Regions from separate parts of the Homo sapiens genome. Here region 1 is linked to region 2. Evidence: promoter capture Hi-C in 16 types of primary human blood cells and fetal thymus (Javierre and others, 2016). All regions are on one chromosome and are shown on one strand. The core of a region is centred on a gene start or on the middle of the fragment in contact, and the rest is flanking DNA. Distances in the headings are between cores, read along the strand shown. Region 1 has its middle 160 kb from the start of TMTC2. Region 2 holds the start of TSPAN19 (tetraspanin 19).

Evidence for each region. The method cuts DNA at HindIII sites, captures the fragments that hold promoters and counts their contacts. A CHiCAGO score of 5 or more calls a contact.
Region 1: a contact is called between a fragment that was not itself captured here and the fragment with the promoter of TSPAN19 in region 2, in 1 of 17 cell types (total B cells). The highest score is 5.5, in total B cells.

What each region holds. Positions count from the first base shown.
Region 1 is chr12:82,528,124-82,532,643 of GRCh38, forward strand. No RefSeq gene overlaps it. Among named protein-coding and RNA genes, the nearest start is that of TMTC2, 160 kb to the right of the region's middle. The HindIII fragment of the contact is 2,535 bases long and covers 1,035-3,569 here.
Region 2 is chr12:85,033,255-85,037,867 of GRCh38, forward strand. It overlaps TSPAN19 (tetraspanin 19), which reads right to left and starts at 3,023. Exons shown (of 9, transcript NM_001100917.2): 1 at 2,950-3,023. LRRIQ1 (leucine rich repeats and IQ motif containing 1) reads left to right here and starts at 3,097. Exons shown (of 27, transcript NM_001079910.2): 1 at 3,097-3,153. The HindIII fragment of the contact is 1,935 bases long and covers 1,650-3,584 here.

The sequences.
Region 1 (4,520 bases), core at 1,052-3,551, 2.5 Mb before region 2:
GCAAATGGGTAGTGATAGGTGATTCAAACAACGGAAGGCTTTTCCAATAAACAAAATGTTTTTAAAAATAGAAATGGTTATTTCAGAAGTTCAGATGGTGAGCTTACCATCACTAGAAATGTTTGCATGGATGGATAATTAGTGAGATGTGGTGAGAATCTTGGTAAGAATGTGTTAGGAATTTGAATACTCAGGTTTGAGGGGGAAGCTTTACTAGATTTCTAAGAAAGATCATGTGTAATTTTTAGGGTTTTTTGTTTTAAATTGATAACAGTGTTATTGATAAAATTATGTTGCATTAGGATAATGCTACGTTAACAAATACATCTAAACATTAGAGTGGATTAGCACAACTGTTTATTTCAAACTCATGCACTATTCCTTGCTGTTATTAATGGTTGGTGGATGACTCTCCTTTATACGGAGATTCAGGGACCCTGGTCTTTATCCGTTTTGTGGCTCTGCCATCTCCTAGGCCATTGAAGTACTTTGCCTCCACCCAGCAGAAAGGGAAAGAAACAAAAGAGAATGAACATCTAATTCTTAAACTGGAAATAACACACTTACTTCTGCTTATATTCCATTGCAGAAAGCTAGTTAGATGACCCCGCATGGATTGAGAGAGAAAAGAAAGCACAAATATTGATACTCAGTTGCTTTCTTTACCACTGTCCTCCCTCTGACAACTGAACATTTGTGCACATCCTTTTTCTTACACATGTATTATCTCTACAAAGAAGTCAACTCAGAGTTATATTTAGTAACTTGATCCAACTAAAAGTCCAGAAAATCTGGGTGATACCTATCCCCTCCATCAGGTCTGGGTGTGACACCTTATAATCTAGTGACTATTTCCTAAAGTATATTGCACCAGTGGCCAAAACCTTAATCATTCCTTATATCCACATTCTTTGCCATGTAACTCAGTGTCCACTCCCTATGCATATAGCAGTGTTCCCCCAGCCTTTTACTCTGGTCTCAGCCAGGTGACTTGCTTTGATCAAAGGAATATTAGCAGATAAGATGTAAGCAGAAGCTTGCCCTCTACTTTCAACATAAGAACATGCTTATGTCTAGTCCACAGAAGGATGAAAGACATACAAAGCAAAGCCAGTTGCCTCAGCCAAGGCATCCTCGGTTAGTTGACAGCCAGCCATCCTCCAGATAGATGAGTGATCTAAGCCAAGATGGAGCTGCCTGGCTAAACCCCAGCTGATTCTAGACATGTGAACAATAAATGCTTAATGTTGTATGACACTTAGGGTTTTGCAATTGTTTATTATGCAGGCTTATTGTGGTCATAGATAACTGATACATGTACCAAACAAGACTCTCAACTCTTAGTGAGCAGAAATTTACTTGGTTTCATTTTCTACATAAAATATAATGCTATACTTTCTCATACTGGAATGCAAACTTTGTTGAGTTCATTTTAATACGTAGCAAGGTTAAGCTAGATAAAATGTTGTAAATATTGTGAAACATAAGCATGAATTAATTTTTATATCTTTATAGCACTTTTAACTTTTCAAACCACTTTCAGATGTCCTTTCACTTGATTTTCACAGCAACTTTGATAGAAGGAAAAGTAGATTCCTGTATTCCTAACTACCAAATCTCAGTGACTAAGTTACTACCCCAATTACAACTGGCTAATGACAGAAGAAAATCAAACACACTGGAATCCATCTCTCCTGCCTTCCAGAATGTACTCCCATTGCTGAATAGGCCTTCATTAGAGAAGTAAGGAGACAACAGTTTTTCCATAGCTATTGTATGATAAACATGATCATAACACTCTTACCTCATTACTGGATATTTTCAAGGTTAAGATTTACTCCTTCAGAAGTCTCTGAATTATGCCTATTCTCTCTAATGAAATGCTTTCCCCAATATTTTCTACTAAAGGATCTGCAGAACTGATCAGTAAACACGAATTGGATGTAAAGAAATTCTTACCTGTAGCAGAGTTTCACAACCTCAGCACTATTGATGTTTGGGCTAGATAATTATCTGTTGTGGGAGTCTTGCCTGTTTATATTCAGTAGCAACCCTGACTTGTACCCACTAGATTCCAGTAACATTGCCCCAGTTGTGGCAAACAAAAATGTCTCTGGACGTTGCCAATTATCACCCCCTAGAGTGATATTCATCCCCTCTTCCATTCAGAAACATGGGCAAATTAAATACAACTAGGATTTTGCGTGTCAGATTCTTAGAAGATGAGAGCTGAACATAAGGAATCAGTTTGTGCAAACTTTTCATTTTATAAAATTTTATATTTCTATTTTCACTTTGTAAGGAAGAAAAGTACACCCAAACAGTTATTCAAAGCTACAAAACTGGTTAATACTATGTCTTTTGACACACTATTGAATTATTTCATATTTTATTTATCTGTTCCCCTTTACTCTGCAAATAAAATTAAGGGACTTTGGATAGACTGTGCAACTTCTAATTCCCGTTCTAGGTCCAAGTATTGACTTAGTGGCCTGCTTTCGGGTTTCTGTAGAAGCCTCATCCTACCCAGGTAATGCCACACACATATCCTTACCTGACTTATCTTCTCTGCCTCTTCAAGTTACCCACAAACCTGACTATCTTTACTACTATCCCCCTGCCAGGCCCTGGTGCAGTCTTTTCTCCTTGTCTCATCTTTCTGGCTGACACTTTAAGGTCCAGTTCTCAATTGTTCTCAAGGCTCTGATTTCTTCGACCTAGCCTAGATATTCTTTTTGTCCTTTTCTTCTTTTAGGTCTTCCTTAAAAACATCCTTTACCATTCAATAATTCTAGTCCTTTAGATATCAATTGTCTGAAGGCAAAACCTACTCAACCCAAGAGGTCCTTTTCAACACCGAATGGGTATATCTACTTTTCATTATTGCCTCCTTCCCAAATTTTTATTTATGTACTCATGAGTCATATTTATATCTTTATTTTATTTTATTTTAAGACAGAATCTCGATCTGTCACCCAGGCTGGAGTGCAATGGCACAATCTCAGCTCACTGCAGCCTCCACCTCCTGTGTTCCAGTGATTCTCCTGCCTCAGCCTCCTGAGTAGCTGGGAATGCAGGCACGTGCCACCAAGCCTGGCTAATTTTTGTATTTTTAGTAGAAACGGGTTTCACCATGTTGGCCAGGCTGGTCTCAAACTCCTGACCTCAAGTGATCAGCCACCCTTGGCATCCCAAAGTGCTAGGATTACAGGCATGAGCCACCGTGCCCAGCATATTTATACCTTTAAAAGAGCAATTATAAGTTTTTTCTTGGAAGTATCCATTGCCCTATTATAAAATTGCCTAAATGTTATGTTTCAGCACGCCAGTCTTTTATTCTCACTTCTTACCTGGAGTAGCCCCCGAATTTCATCATCGTTTTAGGACACAGGGTGTATTTTGCTACTACTTTCCCATCTTTAAAACAAGTAAGTGGACAAAACTAAATAGCTCCCCATCAAAATATAGATTAATAAATTCAGTCCTCTGGGCATGTTGCTTTATGAAATTGGTAGAAAAAAAATATTTGATAAGGAAGCCAAACTTCAATAAAAAGCCTATAATTAAAAAGCTTCCTATCACAGTATTCAAAGAGACAAATACCATTTATTTGTATTCAGGAAACTGACTTCTTTCATTTCAGCCCATCAAGAATATAATCTGATTTCAAATGATTATGTATTAACCTATGGTAAAGAATTGCTATTCTTTTGAGTAAAGAGGGAAAAAAATAGCATCCCATAAAGTATACAGGTAAAAGGCATTTGGAAACTGTGTATTCTTTTCACTTACTTGAGGAATGGTTATTCATTTGCTTTGGGAATTAACTTATTTAAGAATAAGATAGAGGTAGAGGAGATTTGGGAATGGAAGAGACTAAAAATCTCCATTTTAGGTCTAACATTTAAGTCTTTAATCCATCTTGAATTAATTTTTGTATAAGGTGTAAGGAAGGGATCCAGTTTCAGCTTTCTACATATGGCTAGCCAATTTTCCCAGCACCATTTATTAAATAGGGAATTCTTTCCCCATTTATTGTTTTTGTCAGGTTTGTCAAAGATCAGATGGTTGTAGATGTGTGGTATTATTTCTGAGGGCTCTGTTCTGTTCCATTGGTCTATATCTCTGTTTTGGTACCAGTAACATGCTGTTTTGGTTACTGTAGCCTTGTAGTATAGTTTGAAGTCAGGTAGCATGATGCCTCCAGCTTTGTTCTTTTGGCTTAGGATTGTCTTGGCAATGCAGGCTCTTTTTTTGTTCCATATGAACTTTAAAGTGGTTTTTTCCAATTCTGTGAAGAAAGTCATTGTTAGGTTGAAATGCAAATCAAAACCACAATGAGATACCATCTCACACCAGTTAGAATGGCGATCATTAAAAAGTCAGGAAACAACAGGTGCTGGAGAGGATGTGGGGAAATAGGAACACTTTTACACTGTTGGTGGGACTGTAAACTAGTTCAACCATTGTGGAAGACAGTGTGGCAATTCCTCAAGGATCTAGAACTAGAAATACCATTT
Region 2 (4,613 bases), core at 1,773-4,272:
TAAGGAGGCATGGATCAGAGTGGCAAGAGATGAAAGATAAGCTAAAGAAGTAGACTCAGTAAAGATTGTGACAAATCTTATATGCTTTACTAAAGATTTTTTTTTTCCTGAAGGTAATAGGGAGTCGTAATTCTGGCCTCAATGTGGAAGCCAAATTAGAAAAGACACTTAAGATAGGGGGATAATTTATAAATGGCTGTGGGAATGGAAACAGTATCACAATATGAGAGATGTAGTAGGAAGTAGAATTGCCAGCATTGGGATAACCAAAGAATCAAAGATGGAATGTAGTCTGTAGAAATGATGTAATTAAACTTTGAACATTATCTCATATTCTACATTGTCTCATTTAAATTGATTCCCTTTATCGTCGATATTTTGCAAATGCTATTATCCCCAATATCATCAATGAGGAGAGAAAGACTCAGCAAGGCAAAATTACTTGCCAAAGGTCACTTAGTTAATAAATGGCAGAGATGAGATTTAACTCCATTGATATAAACCACCCTCTCAATAACTTTCCCAAGCCCCAGTATCATCATCTGTAAATGCAGATTGTAATAGTACATGCCTCAAAGAGATGTTGTGAAAATTAGATGAGATTATGTTTGTAAAGCTCTTAGCCCAGTGCCTGGCTAGATGTTAGTTATCTCGTTATATCATAAGGCTAGAATCTCGTTATATCATATCTCAGTATAGAAATATTAAGATTATACAAGAGTCATGCATGTGAGAATGGGGAATGGGATGGAAACTGTGGGAAAGTCATAAATTCTCATTTTTCTGTGAAGTGGTTGGTCATGACAGCAGCTGGGAGGGAGCACAAAGAGAGTTAGAGAATCTGAAGGCTTGAGACACACTTTAAGTGGAACAAGAGAATGAGAGGCCTAAGAATACAATATGTGGTACTATGAGCTACATAGTAAATTACTTTTACTCAATAATTACGGTGCCTCAAGAAAATGAAACAAAGAAATACCTGCTCTGCAACTATTTTGAACACAACAATGATATTATGGGATATTTAAATTATATCACTGCCATATGAAGAATAAAGCAGTTGTTGAAAAATGCTCTTAAACTAAAATGATTTCACTACAACACATTTTCAAAGGAATATTAGTCTTGTCAGATAACAAAGAACAAACAGTTATCTCTCATTCTTTCATTCTCTCAATAAATATTTATTATGTACTCTCTAAAGGAAATATGCATTGTTAAGCCAATATGCTATAAATCAACCACACCTACAAATTGTTTTTAAAATTTAAATGAAATGAAGTTAACATGTTCAAAAGAAACAAAAGTCTACTCAGGTTAAAGAGTCATAGGCAAACCAACATACTCAATCTGAAGTTACCGTTTCTAGGAATAATGCAATTAAAATGGACTTCTGCTAAATACTACATGGTTGATAAACAACAGTGTCAAGTTAAATTTACTTATAATCTACAAATGTATTAGATAACTGCTGCCTTTTATTTTTGATTAGTTATATTCTAGCGAAATTATGACTAATTGATAAAGTTGTCCTTTCTTCCAAAGTAAAAAATCGCATGACAATATAGGAGATCTATCACCATGAATTAATTTATCTTCAGAAAATCTTTCACTGTTTTTCTTTTTTGCTGTCAATATTTGACAAAGTAAGCTTTGAGAAGGAAAGGAACTAAGGCATTATTTCCAAAATTATTTGATTATGAAAACTAGTTATTCAAAATTAATTTTGAAATTATTAAAGGATTTATAATTTTTAGAAGTCTGGATAGTTTCACAATCAAAAATAAAACTAATCTTAAGATTCTTATGTGAACTTCAACACAATATGAAAGTCTATTTTAAATGAACAGTTTGAGGTTCGAACACAGTAGCTCATACCTATAATCCCAGTGCTTTGGGAGGCCAAGGCGGGAGGATTACTTGAGTACAAGAGTTGGAGGCTACAGTGAGCAATAATTGTACCACTGCACTCCAGCCTGGGCAACAGAGGGAGACCCTGTCTCTAAAAAAACAATAAAAAATAGATAATTTCAATAGTCTATAAATCAGCAATAAAACCAAACTTAAAAAAAAGAACAAATTCCATTTGAGCATGGACTTTGATAATGAAAATACTCTGAATTTAATTAGACCTGAAACCAAGTGTAGTTTATTTTTTAAAATCATCTTTCCTGAAAAGGAAACTAACATGTGTGCTTTTAATATGAGAAATCTATTAACGTCTCACTTTATATTATTAGTTCTTATGTTGATGCAATTCAAGTTTATTGTTACCAGGAAATGTAGTCTATTTTTTTTCCAGAGGCTCAGTGAAATATTTGCTTTTAGCTTATTTTATAGCAGATACCTTTTACAATTATGGCTACTTCCTTTTAGAATTTAATGCCTTATTTGCAAACTTTAAAAGAAAATTAAAGTAAAAAATATGTTATTAATTAAAATATTATTTTGTACCCTATGTATTTGCTCCACAAAAAACTTTAATAAATTAAGTTAAAATTAAATAGCATGACATAAACTTAGAAATTAAGGTTTTATATTGAAATACTGTGTGACAATATTTTTACAGTAAAATAACTCCAGAAAATAATTTTTCAAATTTCTCACCCACATCCCTTCAGTTAGAGGTTTTTGATGGGCATTGATTGATGATTTTTTTCTTTTTTCCTTTTTCTTTTCTTTTCTTTTTTAAAAAACTGTTGTCATGGAAGGCAAACAACTTATTGACTTCTCTTCCATACTTCTATGTCCCACAAATCACTGTTCAGGATTAAGGGTTTGTGGAATGAACACCTTATACATGGGCAAATCACCAGATGGAAATATAAATATATGTAGCTCAGAAACAATTTAAAAAATTTAAAAGTGAGATTACATCTACTTGGGTAATTATAACAAAATTTCATTTTATTAAGTATTTTCCAAAGTTACTTAAATATTAAAATCTACCTGTAAAAAACCGTAAGCTCCTCATCCAGTCCCTGAAATGCTGCGTTCGTTTCAATTTAGAATCGAGATTGTTTGTCCTTCTAGAGCACCTGTAGGGAAAAACCGGTGTCTCTTCCTTGTGATTGGCTGTTGCCATGGATACGCTTTGTGTAGCGGCTATGGGCGCTGTCTTACAACAAAGCCAAGGAATCTCGCTGCTGAGGGGTGAGCCGGGGTCTTAAGACTGGGATTCCCGTTGAGGGAGGTGAACAGCTGTGGGAGCTCAGGCCGAGCCGGGACTCTCTCTGCCTGGCCAGACTTCCAGCAAAGGGAGAGACCGCGGGTCAGGGGATGGCTGTGCGACTCTGCGAAGCTCGAGGCTCCCTTCCACCCTGGAGATTTCGAGAACTCATTCAAAACTTAAAGAGATGTCTTGGCTATGTAGGGATCATTCGATGGTTACTCACTCACCGCTCCCCACAAACCAATTGACGTTATTTTCCTTCCTTCCTTCCCTTCTTGTCGCCCTCCTTTCCACCCTTTCTTTTTCTGTCTCTCTTTCTTTCTTTTTTTTTTGGTAATATATAATTTATATGAACCTTATAAAGTAGATTTCTCTCCCCTTTCTTTACAGGGGTTGAAGGGGGAGTTCCTTAAGCTTTTCTACTTTTGACAGCTTTAGTGAACTCCAAGTGATTCGTTATCAACTTAGAGCACTTTAATGTAGCCCATTTACAGTGAGACCCATCCATGACTGCACGTCATATACAGTAACCACTAACTGCAGGTGGCTACTGAGGACTTGAAATGCAGCTAATCCTAACTGAGATGTGCTGCAGGTGTAAAACACACAACAGATTTCTAAGAATTACTGTCCAAAGAAAGAATATAAACTCTTTGCAATGATATTAATAATTAATTTTGTTATTACACGTTGAAATATTTTGGATATATTGGGTTAAATAAAATATATTATAAAAATTAATTGCACTTCTCTTTTGTTTTTAAAAAGTTGCTAATAGAAAATTTAAACTTGCGTAAGTGCTCAAATATGTAATTGGACAGGGGTGATCTAATGAGCCAGTAGATGAACAGAGAAAGTCATGTAAAGGAAATGACTCTTACCTCCACCATACTCTCCTGCCTCTCTTTCTATATAAAGTTTAGTATACCCGTGCATTTTGCTTTGTAGGCATAAAAAAAAAATCTAGCTTTCCTTCTAATAAAGCTTTTTAAATGCACTTTGAGTTCCATTGCAGGATAATATTTTGCCCTGGTTCTGTCTGGAGTTCCATTTCACTTTGTTTTTCTTTTCTTTTCTTTCTTTTCCTTTTTTTATTTTATTTTTTATTTTTGAGTGAGTGAGTGAGGGTGGAAGTTATGGGTAGAACTGATTTTGAGATGATTGAGTAGAGTGAAAGGAGGAATTAACGAAAGGGAAAGAGGATGGAAAGAAGGAATGAAGAAAAGAACAAGAAGACAGGTGGAAAGGTCAGGCCCTTGAGTAAAGAAAGAAAGGTTTAAACTAGTGTCATGAAAAATAAAATGATAGCTGACTAGTACGTTTTCAAACCTTTTTTGGGACTAAGACCAACAGTGAAAAATAAAAAACAGAACATTAACAACAACACATATTACATTGCAACTCATGCATACATACCTACATTTATATGTATTAATAACTG